Regions from separate parts of the Homo sapiens genome. Here region 2 is linked to region 1. Evidence: promoter capture Hi-C in human tissues and cell types (Jung and others, 2019). All regions are on one chromosome and are shown on one strand. Each heading gives the region's core, a stretch centred on a gene start or on the middle of the fragment in contact. The rest is flanking DNA. Distances are from core to core; before and after follow the strand shown. Region 1 holds the start of GINS4 (GINS complex subunit 4). Region 2 has its middle 88 kb from the start of ZMAT4.

What was found. The method cuts DNA at HindIII sites, captures the fragments that hold promoters and counts their contacts. A contact is called where the count stands out against the background at its distance.
Region 2: a fragment that was not itself captured here is called in contact with the fragment with the promoter of GINS4 in region 1 in 1 of the 25 tissues and cell types used here (small bowel).

The regions. Positions count from the first base shown.
Region 1 is chr8:41,526,476-41,530,539 of GRCh38, forward strand. It overlaps GINS4 (GINS complex subunit 4), which reads left to right and starts at 2,786. Exons shown (of 8, transcript NM_032336.3): 1 at 2,786-2,921; 2 at 3,709-3,823. The coding sequence starts at 3,728. RefSeq lists a silencer at 2,332-2,761. The HindIII fragment of the contact is 17,762 bases long and covers 1-4,064 here.
Region 2 is chr8:40,983,200-40,987,524 of GRCh38, forward strand. No RefSeq gene overlaps it. Among named protein-coding and RNA genes, the nearest start is that of ZMAT4, 88 kb to the left of the region's middle. The HindIII fragment of the contact is 4,213 bases long and covers 854-4,325 here.

The sequences.
Region 1 (4,064 bases), core at 1,536-4,035:
ATGCTTGGACTCAAATATGTAACAATTAAGGAATATTAATAAACATCATTGAAAAGCTATTTGGTAATGAGAATTATGGAAGAATGCGATTGTGCTCAAAGACCACTGTTCCAGTCAGCTAATGCTACATAACAAACCACTCCAAAACTTAGGGCCTAAAACAACAACAATACTTATTTTGCTCACAAATCTGCGATTTGGGCAGGGCTCAGCAGAGAAGCTCATCTCTGCTCCCTTCATCTTAGCTGGGACGGTTTGAAGCCTCAGCACTAGAATCACCTGAAGGCTCATTCAACCCAGACATCTGGAGAATGGAACAACTGGGGTTCTGGGGTTCCTCCAGTAAGGCTCCCCATCTCTGCCTGGCATCTTCATATCGACTCTCTTGCACATCGACTGCAGGCTAGCCAGACTTCTTCCACGTCAGCCCACAGCTCTCAAGAGATGGGGCTCCAGAAAAAAGAGCCAAGTGGAAGCCACATTGCCTTTTATGACTTAGTCCCAGAAGCCAAGCAGCATCACTTCTGCCAAATTCTCTTGGTCAAAGCAGTTAAAAAACTCTTTCCTGATGTAAAAGGCAAGAACAGGGCCAGGCGCTGTGGCTCACACCTGTAATCCCAGCACTTTGGGAGGCTGAGGTGAGCAGATCACTTGAGCCCGAGTTCAAGACCAGCCTGAGCAACATGATGAAACCCCACCTCTACCAAAAATACAAAAAATTAGCCAGGCATGGTACACACCTGTAGTCCCAGCTACTCATGGGGGCTGAAGTGGGAGGATCACCTGAGCCCAGGAAGGTCAAGGGTGCAATGAGCCGTGACCGCCCCACTGCACTCCAGGCTGCGCGACAGAGTGAGGCCCTGTCTCTAAATAAATAAATAGAAGGTGAGAACATAGACCCCACCTCTTGATGGAGGAGTGTCAATGTCACATGGTAAGAAGGGTATGTGGGGTGAGATCCATATTAGAGCAGCTATGTTTGGGAAACACACTCTGCCACAACCAAAAACCACTGGATTACCAAACCGTTGAAACAGACCTTGAAATAACCACCTATTTGCCACTCACAAAATTCATTTCATAAGACACAGCTCAAATGTCCCTTCCTTTTGGGAATCCCGTGCTGATATGCCCCAGCTTACACAGCGCTTTGTAAAGATGCCTACTCTCTCACTCGGCTTATTCTATTGTCATTTTCATAACAGGATTGTAATCAGGCAGGTACGATCATACTATATTAGCCAATCATTTTACTAGTCAATCAATATGACATCATAGGGCAGCTTTGCAAAGAGCCCTCAGATTGATGGAGAAGAGATACTTTTAGGGAAGCCAGAAGCAACGCTTTGCACAGAAAACAAAGGACAGCAAAGAGAAAAGAATCAGCAACTCAGAGAAGAAAAACTGGATCACACAAAGATGGAAAAAATATATACATATACAGACATGGGTTTTTGTGCTTTTCCCCTCCAGAAGGTGAGTTGAAAGCATTGCCCCAAAGCAGTGATTCTCTTTTCTTTTTTCTTTTTTTTTCTTTTTTTTGAGATGGAGTCTGGCTCTGTCTCCCAGGCTGGAGTGCAGTGACGCCATCTTGGCTCACTGCAGGCTCCGCCTCCCGGGTTCACGCCATTCTCCCGCCTCAGCCTCCCGAGTAGCTGGGACTACAGGCGCCCGCCACCACGCCCGGCTAATTTTTTTGTATTTTTAGTAGAGACGGGGTTTCACCATGTTAGCCAGGATGGTCTCGATCTCCTGACCTCGTGATCCGCCCACCTCGGCCTCCCAAAGTGCTGGGATTACAGGCGTGAGCCACCGCGCCCGGCCCCAAAGCAGTGATTCTCAAACCTCAGCTGTGTCAGGGTCACCGGGAGGGCCTGGGTCTGGTGAAATACCCCCAGTTTCTGATTCGGTGGGCCAGGGTGGGGCCTGAGAACCTGCATTTTCACGGATTCCCAGGCGATGCTTCTGCTGGTCGTCCGATCCCAGGCTTCAAGAACCAGTACCCACTTTGTGAGGCCGAGGTGGGAGGATTGCTTGGATCCTTGAGTTCGAGACCAGCCTGGCCATCATAGGGAGAACCTCCCCACCCCCAACCCCGCCACAGTTCTTTTTTTTTTTTTTTTTAATTAAAAAATAACTGGGCGTGGTGGCGCTGGCCTGTGGTCCCAGCTACTCCGGAGGCTGAGGTGGGAGGATCGCTGGAGCCCGGGAGGCGGAGGTTGCAGTGAGCTGTGGTGGTGCCACTGCACTCCAGCCTGGGCACCAGAACGAGACCCTGTCTCAAGAAAGATGAAAAGGAATATACTGGAGATTCTGAAGGCAATGACCACACTGACCACAGGTGAAACCCCGCAAAGACGGAGGAACCCAAAGAGCCACGAGAGCTGTGGGTGGAGACGGCCCAGGAGGCTGCAGCGGCCTGCTTTCAACAGCATACTTCTGGGTGGGACCCCCCGGGGCGGACACCGCCGCTCCCCTTGGCCGCGGTGGCGGGCGCCCCCTCCCGACGCTCTTGGGTAGTGCAACCCGGACCGCACAGCGGAGCGGCCGGCCCCCAGGTGGGCGGGGCCAACCCGGACCAGCCTCCCGCCGCCTCAAGTCCTTGGGTTGCTGGGACTGCAGGCCGCCGCGAAGACAGTCCCCGCCCGCCGGGTGGGCGGGCCCAAGGAGACCGCCCCGCTCTTCCCCCCGGGCCTTGATTGGTCAGCGTCGCCCTTGCGCGATGACGTCGTGCCTGGGCGGAAACTTTGCGAGAGTAGCGCGGGAGCTGAGAAGTTGCAGGGTTGAGTTGGTCCCGGCAAGTCCTTGAGCAGTTTGTTCCTCTGTCTTCCCGCTTCCTGGTGCCCCGACTGCGTCCCCACGAACGCCCCGTCCTTACCGCCGGCTGCTGTGGAGTGCCTCGCTGTCTCCCAGGTCCCCGAGTGAGCGTCGAATGGGACCTCTGTGGCTAGGGCAGGCCTGTGTGGGTGGCACTGAGAGGGAGGAGGGGAGGGGGATGTTCGCAGTTTCCTTGCGACCCCAGGGACTTTCTTTGTCCCCGCCATCCACCTCCTTAGGCCTTTGGGATCGCCGACTGGTCTAATGTCGCCGGCCCTTGTGGCTCTGGGAAATTAGCATTGATTAATCTTCCTAACAATTTTTGTTTTTATAGAGACAGGATCTCCCTATGTTGCCCAGGCTGGTCTCGAACTCCTGGGCTCAAGGTATCTTCCTGCCTCGGCTTCCCAAAGTGCTGGGATTACAGGCGTGAGCCCGGCCAGCTCCTAATAATGTTAAGTGCTTGCTAGGAGTCAAGCGCTGTGCTGAGCGCAGGGGCTTCCCACGTCATTGCGTCCCCAGTGCTTAGTGCCAGGCACTGAGCAGAGGCGCGATTCGTATTTGAACTAAAACGAACCCCGTCCCTGAGGAACAAGACCTCTACTGGGAAGTCAAAGAAATGAATAGTGATTGTATGGTGTGATGGGTGCTCAGCTCTTGGTGGACAGAAGTAAGGGGGAGGCTTGTTTGAGAAACGGATACCTGACCTAAGCCTTGGAGGAAGAGGCAGACACTGGAAAACTAGAGTCCCTGCGTTCTCTCACCACTTGCTAAAGGGCCTCTACAACCCCAGGAAACCTCAATAAACCTTTCCTTTCTCCAGATAGATGTCTGTTCTTGCAGATAATTAGAAAACGCATTGCAGAGTATTGGTTCTTTCCCTCTCATTAGGTTCCTGGTTTCAGAGAAGATGACCGAAGAAGTGGATTTCCTGGGACAGGACTCTGATGGGGGTAGTGAGGAAGTGGTCCTAACTCCTGCAGAGCTCATTGAAAGATTGGAGCAGGTAAGCATCCCAGATCGAATCCCTTTGCTCCAGTCAGCCTTTTTATTTAGTTCAACTGTGAATATCAGGGATCACAAGATGAGGAAACGGAATTTGGGGCTTACTTTAGAACAGGGACTGGATCTTACCATCTACATGGAAACGGGAAGCAAGAAGGACATCCTCTGTTAGAGACCTCATCATATCAAACACAGCATCCCCAAGTGGGGTCAGTAAGGGACAGCTTTGGGCACATTCAGTG
Region 2 (4,325 bases), core at 1,710-4,209, 540 kb before region 1:
GCAGTGGCTCAAGCCTGTAATCCCAGTGCTTTGGGAGGCTGAGGTGAGTGGATCATCCGAGGTCAGGAGTTTGAGACCAGCCTGGCCAACATGATGAGACCCCACCTCTACTAAAAATACAAAAATTAGCTGGGTGTGGTGGTGCATGCCTGTAGTCCCAGCTACTTGAGAGGTAAGGCAGGAGAATTGGACGAACCCAGGAGGCAGAGGTTGCAGTGAGCCACAATCGCACCACTGCACTCCAGCCTGGCGACAGAGCAAGATTCCATCTAAAAAAAAAAAAGTTAACACCCCAGAGTCAATCTAGAGGCGAGGAGGGAGCCCTAGCCCAAGGTGGAAAAAGCATTTCCCCTGAAGGGCTCCACTGGCTTCAGGTGACATCAAAGTAAAGTCAAGAGATTTCACCTAAACTCTCAAAGACATGTAAGCCAGCCTGGACAAGAGTTCTGCAAATCCCTCCCAGGAGAAATCTAACACTGTAAAGTTGGTTTTGTGCCAGGGAGACTCTAAATAGCAGTTTCAGTTGAGTTTCAGTTTTCTGAAAACAAGCTTGGTGGACTGCTATTCCTCATCAATCCACCCAAGATAAGTACTCACATCTTCCTTCTTGGGCAGCTCCACTCTCTTCGCTCATTGCTCTCCACTGGTTTCCGTGTGCACCTTCTCCATTTCCATGGGTGTGTGGCTGTGCCAGGGCCATTCGGAGCCAGAGTCCAGCCCAGGCAGCAGACACCACGGCAATAAGACACACAGACGTCAGGATCTGTGGGATTCAGCAAATAGAAAACAAGGCCAGAAAAATAGAGACAAAAATCAAATTGCTGGGCATGGTGGCTCATGCCTGTAATCCCAGCACTTTGGGAGGCCGAGGCTGGTGGATCACGAGGTCAGGAGATCGAAACCATCCTGGCTAACATGGGGAAACTCCATCTCTACCAAAAATACAAAAAATTAGCTGGGCGTGGTGGCGGGCACCTGTAGTCCCAGCTACTCGGGAGGCTGAGGCAGGAGAATGGTGTGAACCTGGGAGGCAGAGCTTGCAGTGAGCCAAGATCGTGCCACTGCACTCCAGCCTGGGTGACAAAGCGAGACTCTGTATCACAAAAAAAAAAAAAAAAAAAAAAAAAAAATTCAAGTCATCTTGTCAGAGACGTAAGCTTCCAGATGTTTCCAGAAGGAAATAGCAAACCGCAGCTGGTGGGCCAAATCCAGTCCATTGCACACTTTGCAAATACAATTTTATTGGAAAACAGCCACACCCATACATTCATGTATTGTCTGTGGCTGCTTTTGCACTAAAACAGCAGAACAGAGTAGCTGCAACAGGAACCATAAGGCTCATAAAACTCAAATGATTTACTGCCTGGCCCTTTACAGAAACGCTTGCCGACTGGTGGCTTTGAGTGTGATCCAGCATGCGTAAGCAGCTGACCTGCTTTATATAGAGTGGTGGACGCTCCCGGTCTCCCTCCTTGACCCCCAGGCAGAGCTTCCTTCAGGAGGCTGGCACTCTGATCAGGGCAAGTCCAGGCAAAGCAGCAGCCCCAGGCCTCCTCCCCACCCCGACCCCACCCCCGGGAATGGAGAGAATGCCCTACTTCCTCCCAGATCCACTGGAGGCCAGGAAGATGATGGCAAAGGAGAAAGCCACCAGGCCTCTTCAGGAGGAAGGACTGCCAGTGAAGCTCTCCCCTGCACTGTGGACAGGGCTCTAGCTCCACTGCTGTGGAAGAATTGGCCCCTTTCCTTTTCTCCATCACTCCCATTGTGCCTGCTCTTTCCCAGGCCTGGCCAGGAGAGGACTTCCGCATCCCTGGGCCTTATTTTAGAAGTCACCCCATGCTCAGCCACCATCTCGGGCATGACCCTTCCCGAAGACAGGACTTTTGTCAGCCCGTCATCTTGTTTGATCAACATAGGCACTTGAATTCTCAAAGAAGCCACATTGATCATGCACTTGCTAAATGGCTGCTAAGCGCCCACCGTGTGCTGGCTGCTGTGCTCAGCACGAGGGAAAGAAAGAGGTAGGACTTAGGCTCTGACTCCAAGCCTGCTGCCCACAGTCCACCATCCTGCAGCCCCCATCAAATGTCCTGCTGATCCTCCTCAAGCGGGAGTGTCAGAAATCCCTGATCCCAGACCATGCGATCTATTTAGGATTTTAATTTATGACTATTGTAACTGACTATTGGTAAATTACAACTCTCCTATTGCCAAAAGACTTAAAAGTGGATAGTAAATCTGTTAAGAAATTACATACCTATATTTACATATTTTCATATTTTTAAAAAGAGCAGATACAGAATCAGCTGCATTGGTTCAAATGTGTGTGAGGGCAACCTCAGGTTTTGGGACATCCTCAGAGATTTGTGGAGAGGAACCCTGATGAGAGCTGCAGAGGCTGTGATGCAGCTCATGGGCATGAATATTCCTGTCCATGAAGGAGTCTGCTCACCAAGCCAGCTCCCATGCAGGCAGAGTGAGGGGGCATAAGTCTCAATGGAATAAGCATTTGGGCAGGCACAGAGCAGAGGGGAAAGGAGAGAGACTGCTATGTGTTAGGTGGTGGAGACACAGTCAGGATGGGAAGGCTGTTGCCCAGCCTGAGCTATGAATGTTGATTATTTATTTATTTATTTATTTATTTATTTATTTTAGAAATAAGAACCAAATGACAGCCTCCTGATCCTCTCCAGAAAGGTGCCCAAGGTGAGATCTGGATATCCAGGGATTCATCCAGGGACGTGAAGATGAGCCCAGCAAAGGTATGAGAAAGTTTCTCTCTTAGGGAGCTCTTCTTTCTGGCCAGGCCCTAATTGTAATTTACGGAATGTTTCTTTCATAAAAAGAGAAGTCACTGACTGAAATAGCTGCTTTTGCTTGCAAGTCTCTGTGAGAATTCTCCAAGGTCTCTTTCCCTTTCTTTGCCCTCTGGGAGCACAGATCAAGTACGCACTAGAAGAATCTATTTGAAGCACTCCCTTCAGCAGGTTAACCAGTTGTTGCATTAGAAATATACCTATAGCAGCAAAACAAAATGTTTGGATTGGGTCTGATGTGATTATTTATTCCAGGAACAAGTCATATGTATGATTCTCACCATTTTAATAATGGGTTGACATCATTTCTGGCTAAATGGGGATTATCCAGCCATTAACTAAAGCTAAGCCGGTGGCTTCCATAGAGGGGCCTTTTCCTCCTGCAGCCTGGGCTCCAGGGAGGAACACCTGGACCTGGCTGCAGGTGCGTGAGCTTCCAGATGGAAACAGACTCTGTCTCTGCATACGAAAAACTCCCTTTACCCATGCTTTTCCTCTGCTCTCACACCAGAAGAACAATCATCAACGCAGAGGAAGATTCCTGAGACTAAATGTGGGGGCAGGGGGTGTTTCCACACACACCAAGCAGTGGACACAAGTTGGGGTCCTCTAATCCAGTTTTGACGCTGTCTACTCAGAGGTAGCATCAGATCCCACAGGCTAGGGGCTCAATTGCCAAGACTGCCCACCCCTCCCTGCTCGCAAGTCCAGGCTTCCGGAACTCCTGGCCAACCTGTTTCGAGTTGGGGTTCCCATGACTCCCTCACTGGGTTGGATTCATTTGCTGGAGTGGCTCACAGAACTCAGGGAGACACTTACTTACATTTACCAGTTTATTATAAAGGATTTTGCAAAGGATACTGATGGAGAGACATGAGGGTGAGGTGTGGGGAAAGGGGTGCAGGGCCTCCATGCCCTCCCTGGGCATCACCGTCCAGGAACCTCATATGTTGGGAAGCTTTCCTAACTCAATCCTCCTGGGTTTTTATGAAAGCTTCATGTCATCAGCGTTCCTTCCCTCGGGGTATATAGGATGGAGGCTTCTCAGGGGAGCACCTTAAGACCCACAGTCAGAAAGGCAGGGAAGAGTGAATTCTGCCTTGGGGCAGGTGAAAGGAGGGCAGGAGAGAGGTTCTGTTTCCTGAGGCCTAACACAGCCGCCATTACAACAAAAGACTCTAACAAGAGATGTGGGAGTTATTGATCGGGAACAGGGGGTGAAAACCCATATATAGGTTAGATAGGTGATACAGATGCAGATGATGATACAGAGACAGAGACAGATATAGAGATATCATAACATCACATGCTCAAAGAGGTCCTGTGCTCTCTCAGCCCCCCAGGCCTCTGCCTGTGCTATTCCTTCTGCCTGAGGGTCCCCTCCTGACTCCCCCGTTTCTCCACACTTTGCCTGGCTTAGGACCCACGCCTTCATTCACAGCTCAGACCTCAGCTCCTCTCCGAGCTCTTCCTGGCCTCCTACAGACAGAGGGATGGGCACACTCT